Linked DNA regions of Homo sapiens: region 2 is linked to region 1. Evidence: promoter capture Hi-C in human tissues and cell types (Jung and others, 2019). All regions are on one chromosome and are shown on one strand. The core of a region is centred on a gene start or on the middle of the fragment in contact, and the rest is flanking DNA. Distances in the headings are between cores, read along the strand shown. Region 1 holds the start of FOXB2 (forkhead box B2). Region 2 has its middle 320 kb from the start of PCSK5.

Evidence for each region. The method cuts DNA at HindIII sites, captures the fragments that hold promoters and counts their contacts. A contact is called where the count stands out against the background at its distance.
Region 2: a contact is called between a fragment that was not itself captured here and the fragment with the promoter of FOXB2 in region 1, in 1 of the 25 tissues and cell types used here (IMR-90 fibroblasts).

The regions. Positions count from the first base shown.
Region 1 is chr9:77,017,635-77,022,589 of GRCh38, forward strand. It overlaps FOXB2 (forkhead box B2), which reads left to right and starts at 2,021. Exons shown (of 1, transcript NM_001013735.1): 1 at 2,021-3,319. The coding sequence starts at 2,021. The coding sequence ends at 3,319. The HindIII fragment of the contact is 6,747 bases long and covers 1-4,955 here.
Region 2 is chr9:75,571,318-75,576,549 of GRCh38, forward strand. No RefSeq gene overlaps it. Among named protein-coding and RNA genes, the nearest start is that of PCSK5, 320 kb to the right of the region's middle. The HindIII fragment of the contact is 6,061 bases long and covers 534-5,232 here.

The DNA.
Region 1 (4,955 bases), core at 771-3,270:
TCCCTGCAGTAAACTGGGGTTTCCTGCTGGGTGTTTGGATGAGTGCAGAGCAGGAACCTCCAAGCAGAAGGACCTCACTCCTGGGTTCATCCACCTCTCCCTCGCAGATCACACCAGGATCCTGTGGACTGATAATTTTTGCTTCCTATTTAATTATTTCCATTCCACCTCCTGCCTCGCCCTGGCCCCACACCACCGTGCTAAGAATAGCAAAGATTTCCTTCCAGCACACACAGGTGATGGGACCCCTGAATCCCCAACTCTTACTTCTGGCCCCAGCTCAGACATCGCCATCCCAGAGAAACCTCATCTTGTCCAACTCACTCGCTCCAGGAAAGTGTGGTGGAGCCTCCATTCGCCAAGCCCTTTAGTGCCTATTCTATTAATTTCTTGGTTACTGTTCGTCTCACCCTCTATACCGCGATGGTGGAGCTCGGATACTGTCTCCTGTCTCCCTGCACCTGGTGCCTCACATGCAGTTGGCGCGCAATAAAACTGAGATGAATTTGGCATTTGGTGAAAACACCCCATGCTTTCTTCCCCATGAGTTTTTCCCTCCAGCCCTCTAATCATCGGGGTTTCTTGCAGAGAAGAGGCCTTGAGGACACGATACTCTGAACTTGACCCAGAGTGTCTAGCCCAGGAAAAAGGGTTTGTAAGGAGAGAGAAGCTCACAGCGAGTAGATGAAAACAGGGAAGGGTAAAAGGAAGGGGGCGGAAGAGGGAGATGCCAGAGAGAAGAGAAGCAAGAAGGCAGTGTCCTGTTCCCCCTCCACCGTGCTTGGTGGCCCGGGTGGGGCGCAGCTGCGGGAAATGCACCCGGAGCTGTGCCCCCTCCCGGCGAACAGCCTGCGCCACCCGCCGCACCGGGAGGTGGCTGGGGGCTGCCGAGCGAGTGGTGAACGCGATGGGTGGAGAGCGCCCGAAACGAGGTGGAAAAGGGGGCGGGGGCGAGGCACGGCGCCTTCTTGCCCCTTCTTCAGCTACAGACGCGGCGGCGGCGGCTGAGTCCCTCAGCCTCGGTCATGTGATAGTCTCGAAGCGCTAGCTGCGGGGGTCTCGGCGTCTCGGGGACCATTACAAAACGCAGCCAGGAGAGCGCGTCGCTGCCACTGCCGTCGCCTCTCCTCCTCAAGACAAGCCCGGGAGAAAGGCGGCAGCTGCGGCGCGGACGGCTGAGCCTCCCCGGCCAGCACTCACCCAGCATTCGCAGACGCCCTCTCCAGCCCGCCGCTCGCTCCCAGAGTCCTGCGCCCCACACTCCTCAGCAGAACCTGCGGGCGCTGCCGCTTCAGAAACCACCAAAGTTTTTTCTCCTCAGCGACAGCCTAGGGCTGCGCGTCTCTTCTAACCCCGGCGACGCTGCGAGCCTCGGAGAAAAGAGAGGCGCCCTAGAAGCCAATCTTCTCTCTCCTTACCCTGATTTTTCACTCCAGGAAAAGGAGAACTCCAGCGCGGTCTGGCTAAGTGCCTGGCCAGGGGCCTGCGTCCAGGGCACTGGAAGTCCTGCTGTCACTGGCCTCCAGGACAGCAGGCGCAAACTCAGATTTAAAGGGCCAGAGTCTCTACTGCCCAGACCTTCCTCCCAGCCATCTTGGTCTGGGTTTCCCTCGGACCTAGAAAAAGCAAAGAGGCCGGGAGGAAACACGGCCCCTTGCCACTCTCCTCTGCAGCCAGCTCCAGCACTCAGTCTTTGGCCACCCGGGGGAAGACGCAGAGAAGGCGGCGGTAAACCTGGTGCACTCCGCCCGCGACTGTGCGCGCCAGTCGGCAACCGTCGGGGCCAGAAGTTGCCAGCTTCCGAGAGCTGAGTAGGCCCGAAAGGCCAAGGTCGGAGACACCAGGCAATTCGGAGAAGGCAGGAGAGAGAAGCAGAGAGGGCCTGGAGGGCGAGAGGGCAAAGTGGCGGGACTGGAGGGGCCGAGTGGGAATTAGTGGGGGCAGCCAGGCCCCAGGAACGGAGTGCGGAGAGATTCTGTGGTCCAGTGCGGGCCGGAGGGCGGTGGAGGAGCCGGGGGCGATGCCGCGGCCGGGGAAGAGCTCGTACAGCGACCAAAAACCGCCCTACTCTTACATCTCGCTGACCGCCATGGCAATCCAGCACTCGGCCGAGAAGATGCTGCCGCTGAGCGACATCTACAAGTTCATCATGGAGCGCTTCCCCTACTACCGCGAGCACACACAGCGCTGGCAGAACAGCCTGCGCCACAACCTCTCCTTCAACGACTGCTTCATCAAGATTCCGCGGAGGCCCGACCAGCCTGGCAAGGGTAGCTTCTGGGCGCTGCACCCCGACTGCGGGGACATGTTCGAGAACGGCAGCTTCCTGCGGCGTCGCAAGCGCTTCAAGGTGCTGCGCGCCGACCATACTCACTTGCACGCGGGAAGCACCAAGAGCGCGCCGGGCGCCGGTCCGGGAGGGCACCTTCACCCCCATCACCACCACCACCCCCACCACCACCATCATCACCACGCTGCCGCACACCACCACCATCACCACCACCCACCCCAGCCGCCGCCGCCGCCGCCCCCGCCGCCGCCGCACATGGTACACTATTTCCATCAGCAACCGCCTACTGCTCCGCAGCCGCCTCCGCACCTCCCGTCACAGCCCCCGCAGCAACCGCCCCAGCAGTCGCAGCCTCAGCAGCCGTCTCACCCCGGCAAGATGCAGGAGGCGGCGGCCGTGGCGGCGGCGGCGGCGGCGGCCGCGGCAGCCGCGGTGGGCAGCGTGGGACGCCTGTCTCAGTTCCCACCCTACGGGCTGGGCTCGGCCGCCGCCGCTGCCGCCGCGGCCGCGGCGTCCACGTCAGGCTTCAAGCACCCCTTTGCCATTGAGAACATTATTGGCCGGGACTACAAGGGCGTGCTGCAGGCTGGAGGGCTGCCCTTGGCGTCCGTCATGCACCACCTGGGCTACCCCGTGCCCGGCCAGCTTGGCAACGTCGTCAGCTCCGTGTGGCCGCACGTTGGCGTCATGGATTCGGTGGCCGCCGCCGCGGCCGCCGCAGCCGCAGCCGGAGTCCCTGTAGGCCCGGAGTATGGGGCCTTCGGGGTCCCGGTCAAGTCCCTGTGCCACTCGGCAAGCCAGAGCCTGCCTGCCATGCCGGTGCCCATCAAGCCCACGCCTGCGCTGCCGCCCGTGTCCGCGCTGCAGCCGGGGCTCACTGTCCCCGCGGCTTCGCAGCAGCCTCCGGCGCCATCCACCGTGTGCTCCGCGGCCGCGGCCTCGCCCGTTGCCTCTCTGCTGGAGCCCACAGCCCCTACCTCGGCCGAAAGCAAGGGCGGCTCCTTGCACTCGGTGCTAGTGCACTCCTAGGGGACCCGGCGGGCGTGGGGAGACCAGCGGGGTGAGAGACGCCGGGCCCGGAACCGCCCAAACCACCCGACGGGGAGAGGGCGCCCTGGTCAGGCCGGGCAGAGCTGGCGAGTCTCAGCCTTTGCTGGAACGGAAGGTATTTAAATAGACGAACAACCCCGAAAAGTGGATTCTCCAGTGGTCTGAATAAATATAACCTTCCTGGTGTCTGTGTTTATACTATGTTGTACAATCAGATTAATGAAAGCCAATTTTCAGGTAAGAGTTTCTATTGTAATTAATATAAATCCATAAGTTATGGGGGGAGGGAACGAAGGAGGTTAGGAAAGCCTCATTCGCTGGTAAATTGGAAGTCGATTCTGACCCTTATTCCTGGGAGCAGAAGCTGGCAGAGCTAAACCTCCCGCGAAGAATCCAACAGAGAGTGACGCTGAAACGGATCTCAGCCACCACGTTTCTCTCTGCTGGTCGCATCCTCGGCGGTCGCCTCTCGTGAACATTCAAGACAAAACTGCCGTCCACTAAGGAAATTTCGTTTTATTTAAGAAGGAAAAGAGGAAGCGTTTGATACCGTTATTTTCCTAGTCAGCTAAATGGGCAAGGAAACGGTGTCATGAATAAAGTCGCTTTGGAGGGGGAAGGGGAGGAGAGGAGGCAGCGGGAACCCCACGAAATATCTTTGGGAAACAGCTAAGGTTCTTGGCTCTGACCTGGGGGTCAAGAAGGATAGGAGGAACCTCTAGAGCAATTAGTTTGTACAAAAGAGAATGGCAGCAGCTTAAAGGGTAAAGCCCCAAATTCCAAAAGTTGGGAAACACAACCAAAGGGAGACAATACAGGCGACTTTCCACCTGCAACTTGTTTGGGTATCAGTCGGATGAGAGCCCAAGAATAATGTGAATTCCCACGATCCTTTCTATTTGGAATTTTAAGGAAACAAATCACTTGTATAGCGGGATTTTGTTTCCCTAACTTACGAATGCAGGAAAAACTCGGCACATCACTCGACAATATTGCTCTTAACGCTTGCAGAAACGTTCCATGGCTGTTCCCTTCCAGTCTCCTCGGACGGAAGCAAGGGGACCACCCAGTCACCTTTGCACGCTGCGGCTGTTTTTGTATTCCGTGTGCTGTTTGAGCGCTTATGTCTTTCAGGCGAATTAATTCTTCAGTTTCAATTCGTGAATGGGAAAGAAACTTGCCTTGTCGCTCTTGCCCTTCCCCCCTCTTGAGCCCCAGGGAATAGCACTTTACTCGCGACACAATTTTGGGAATGGAGGGGGGCAGAGTGGGGAGAAATCCGCTTTGCCCTTTGGCTCTAAGTCACCTCCGCCTCTTGTCCGCGCCGCGTTCGGGTTGTGACTTTGTTTATGTCTGCTGGTGTTGTACGCGGTGTTCTCTATTAAAGCTTCTCTCTGGATATCTATGCTAGCCCCGTGTGAAGGTGTTTCAGTTCTCCAAGGATGAGGCCGTGGTTTGAGTGCCCACAGTTAGGTTAGGGTACTTTGCAAATCCTTCCCCTCCCTCTTATTTCTTAACTTCAGAACTTCAAAGGGGTGAGTACACGGGCGAGCCACCAGTAAGCACCGATTTCCTTCATTGCTCCTTTCAGCCTTTGGCACAATCATCTCTTTTA
Region 2 (5,232 bases), core at 2,314-4,813, 1.4 Mb before region 1:
TCAATTATTAATTACCTTAAGGATTTATTAGGAACCAGTGTGTGTAAAAACAATAATGAATGACAACAGATGTGGCCCCAGGATGTGGACTGTGACTCCCTCACAGTCTGGTAGGGAGAGAAACAATGACCGAATAATCAAGCAATGAGTGCATGATATTAAACTTGGGTAAATGTCACAAAGTGAAGGAATGTGGTCCTATGACAGCACATGCTGGCCGGGCGCGGTGGCTCACGCCTGTAATCCCAACACTTTGGGAGTCCGAGGTGGGCAGATCACCTGAGGTCAGGAGTTCGAGACCATCCTGGCCAACATGGTGAAACCTCATCTCTACTAAAAATACAAAAAATTAGCCGGGTGTGGTGGTGCATGCCTGTAATCCCAGCTACTTGGGTGGCTGAGGCAAGAGAATCCCTTGAACTCAGGAGGCACAGGTTGCAGTGAGCCGAGATCACACCACTGCACTCCAGCCTGGGCAACAGAGGGAGACTCTATCTCAAAAATAAAATAAAATAAAAAAGAGCACATGTCAAAGAAACCTTCCTAAACCTAGTGGTGGTGTGCTGGGTGATGTGAAGAGAGCTTTCCTGCTGATGCGATGCTGCAGTAGAAAGTTGGAAGATGAGTAAGAGTGAATCTGGTGTGGTGGGAAGGGAGACAAGGAGAGAAAGGGAAGAAGAGGTTTCCAAGCAGCCTATCAGCAGCGTTTTGGAATCATGGTGTGAGTTTCCCAGTCTTTCCTTGAAGTAAGAATGACCTTAGGCTCTTGTTAAGTATACCAGTTTTGAGGGCCTTCCTCTGAAAGTATATCCAGTGGGCTTGGAAATGTTATCAAACAACTTGAGTGATTTGATTCTTTAATTTATCCAATAACTTGAGTGATTGTTATCAACATAAAGGTTTCAGATGGGACATTAGCGGAATTAGAAGAAGCCCATTGTGATGGAAGCACAAAGGTTGTGGGTTGTGGGGTGAGAGGCAGGCTGTGGTCAGTGCATTTGTTTTTATCCTGAGAACATAGTAGGTTTGTAGAATTGGTAACTAAAAATTGAGGGAATTCTTTCTTACCACTTCCATTTTCCCTGTGAATGAAGAAACAAAAATGGTTATCCGTATATAGTAGGAGAGGCTGAGCAGACATCATCACAGTTTTGAGGAAAATGGAGAAATGAGAGAGCCAGTTGGCCAGGAAAAACTAGTAGGACTGATGTGCAGAGTTGACGGCTCACTTGAGGTTAGGGATTATGGATTTATAGAGGTAACAATTTCCTCTGCAATTGTTTCTCCCCAGCAATTATCAAACTCTTAAGTTTAACTAGAGAGAAAGCCCTATTGCAGGATTGACCCAGGTTAGATGTGATAAAATACAAAGGCATAAAGAAGTTTGGGGTATGGACAAGAGTGATTTTGAAATGACGGATTATAGCTTGTAAGTTGGATAAGGAGAAAAGTAAAGAAAGGAACAGGCTGAAAGATTGCTTAACACACACGGATCCGTAGACCAGAGGCTCTGATGAGACCGAAGAGGAAACAGTTTAAAGCAATCAGTAGAGAGGCAACATTGTGGTTGATGGGTAATATGCTTGGATTTATTATTTTAAGATAGAACATTTTTACATAATATTGATGTCTACAATATTACGGTGTCCAGGTGGGTTTCCTGGGGTTGAGTGGAGGAAAAGTTATTGGAAAAGAGACAGCTAAATAAATTAGACAGAAAATCATCTCATCCCTACTACTGCGATTTCGGGGAATCATGGCTGGAGAAGGAGATTTTGTTCCAATGCATGACCTGTTGTTTTCTTCCACCCTGATAGTCAATGTGAGGGTGGTTGCAGGTCAGGGATTTAAGTAGGATGCTAAGACTGGTGTAGGTTATCACAAAGTACATACAACTTAGGGGTCAGGACAGTAACACATCAGGCTGGGGAGACAACAGAAGCCAGGAGGGCACAATTACTAGAAAACAAAACACGGCAAGTGGCCAGAAGTTGATGGAAATGGTGAGAAGCTGGAAGAGCTATATACTGAGAGGAAAGAAAAAGAAAAACTTTTGAAAAATAAGAAAGCCAAGCAAAACTGGGAATTAAGACAATGACAAGATAGACAGGTGGGCAGATAGAACACACCTACAGTGAAGGAGTCACCTTGCTTTGGTTCAACCTAAGCTGTGTTATTTCCTTGTGACCCTGATGAAAACTGATCTAGATCAAGCCTGGCCTGCACGTAGCAGTCAGTGAAAACAGCTAATGGATAGGAAAATGTCTGGTTGAAAGGAATGCTTGAAAACATGTTGTCCTTTGTCATTGAAGATGGCCCTGTTATACTTCAGACTCTATATTGGGATTTGCAGCCAAAAAGAAGAATTTCTTCCTATCTTCCCTTCCCTGATGGTAGCTTATTAGCCCATAGAATTACTGGAAAATAGAACTGTAATGCTTGGAAGTCCAGAAATAACATCTCTTCAAGGATCCGTCAGGTGAGGGCTGAAAACCAAATAAATATACGTATTCTCTCTTGCACAAAACCAGTACATCTGAAGCTAGAAAGCTACAAGCAGTTTAGGATCTCAAGAAAAATATGGTGAAACAGCTTAAGAAATACTGGATTTTGACCCAGGCAAGAAGGTAATGGTGCTCCAGAAGGCCTTGCTGTTGCCCTGTTCTGGCTGTGGCTCACATTATAGGCTGAAGAGTCCCTGGAGCCAACTAGGTGGGCCCAAGCAGAGGTGTATCCCTCTTCTAGACCATGCTTTGATATCTAAGACCCTGGAATCCCCTTTCTAAATGGTCTGACCCTACCTTTAGAGCCTGAGTGGGTCTGTTACCTCTATTATCGCTACTAAGGACAAGATGGCGCCACTGGTGGGTATATCCTAGGCTGAGTGGTGACTAAGAAGTGGCTGTTGGTGGAGGCCATGGCTGGAACTTGTACACGCAGCCTGGGTGTCCACATACATACAAGTATGAAAAGGAATAGGGGGTGGGAAAAGAAGGGAAGATTGTCAAAGGCCTCAGGCTAGGATCCACAAACCAGCTATCTGCACTGCCATGATCTGACTCAACTCTGAGGTGTCAAGGATTCTAAACTCAGATCTGGCCTTTCAGGCTTTATGAAATTCTATTTGTCAAGGTAGAAGGGTAGAACCTATTTTATTTAGCAGTCTATTCACTTGATTTATAACTTTTAAATATTTAGACGTATGGTACGTGATCCTCCATTTGTAAATTTGCCTAGGCCCCAAATATTTGGGACAGGCCTGGGCTTCTGTTCACAAGTTATTCTAAATTCATCTAGTCCTTCATTGTAGCACTGTCTTGTGCCTATTAGTTCATGTGTGTATCTTTCCTTTTAGACATTTTGCTCTTTAAAGCATGCCCTATTTATTTTTAAATTCCCCAGTGCATAGCTGATTGCCTCTTTACGTATAATAAGCACTCAATAAATATTTGCTGAATCAGCAAAAAGACTATGCAGTCATGAAATTTCTCTGGCTGAGGCAATGCTCTGATAAGCCTTTCTCTGTTTCTAAAATCCCAAGGTCTCCTCCTCTTGCTTAGTCCCTCTAAATTTTATATACATATATATATTCCCTCCACAAAGCTTACTTCCCTTTTCCATTACATGTGAATGTGAGAGGCAGAGAAAAATGAATTCCTAACAGGTGGCATCAGAATTCCTTTTAGCAAGAGAAAAAGGAATTTCAGACAAATTCTTTTGTCTAAAAAAATACCATGAAAATCCTGGTTTACTTGAGAAAATGTATGGGACCCTAGGCTGGCTGAAGTAAAGACATTACAGGGAAAGGAAGATTAATTTTGCATAAAAGATGAAGCATTTGGCATTCAGGAGGACAATCTGTTAGGAAGGAGGAAGAGAAGAGAGGAGCCAGCCAGATGGAAGACTCAAGATGACATGACCCATCTTTGTGACCACCTCCACCCATCCAAGTAAAGACTGCTAAGTTCCCAAGTCATGTTTAATGTGTTTGTTTTTCCCTGGAAACTGAAGAAGAAAGAAATGCATTCTACATTGGAATTACATGGTGTAGAACAGAGGTAGCATGTGAGAATGCAGAACCCCAGAGATTAAGATTTTCTCTGAGAATGAATTGTCAGCTTTCTGGAAAATTTGTAGAACTCTCAAGCCAGTCTTATGCAGGTTGTATGGCAGCTAATGCCATTGAGCTTCCCATTCTTCCCCCTTCAGTAGAAAGCCCCCTTCCCTCACATGCCTTGTGAAAGATGGCTATAAATGCTGCTCTCCCCACCTTCCAGTGAAAATGGCTCCGAGTTTGCAAGGAGGATTCAAGTCAGATTTATTTCATCTCAGTGAACACTACTTTCTACCTAGATTTCTTTTTCATCTATGAGTGCTTTTAATTAATTAATTTATTTTTTTGAGATGGAGTTTCGCTCTTGTTGCCCAGGCTGGAGTGCAGTGGTGTGATCTCGGCTTACTGAAACCTCTGCCTCCTGAGTTCAAGCAATTCTCCTGCCTCAGCCTCTGAGTAGCTGGGATTACAGGCATCCGCCACCACGCCCGGCTAATTTTTTGTATTATTAGTAGAGACGGGGTTTCACCATGTTGGCCACGCTGGTGTTGACCTCCTGACTTCAGGTGATCCACCTGCCTTGGCCTCCCAAAGTGCTGGGATTACAGGCATGAACCACCACGCCCAGCCGAGTGCTTTTTACTTACCAAAATAATACATGTAATAAGAAAATTTTAGTATAAAAATTTATAAAGTCAGTGAATTAAAATATACATATAAGAATAAACACATTGCTAGTTACTTTATCACTGTACTTTAGGGTTCTTTGTTTGGAAGCAACAGAAATCTACTCTGGGTGACTTAGAAAAATTATTTACTTGAAAAAATGGTAAGGAATCAGATCTGCATGTAGAGGACATGAAGGAATGCCCATTGAGGCACTAATGCATATTTCTTCCCTAAGGAAGAATTGAAGCGAAGGTTGGAGAGTGAGGTAAGGATCTTTGGAGAGGACAAGAATCAGAGCACTTCTGGACTTTGCAGTAGCAGGAAACCATGGAGTATCTTTAGGGCTCTGACACAAGCATACATCAGTTCTTCCCCTTTTCAAACTCCCAGGAAGGCGTCAGCTTTGCTTAGCTCAGGTGATGAGTCTGCCTTTTGGCCAGGGCACCTTCATTAACAAAGGGGAGATCTGGATTCTAGGCAAAACACATTTCCATTACCAGAAGCTGAAA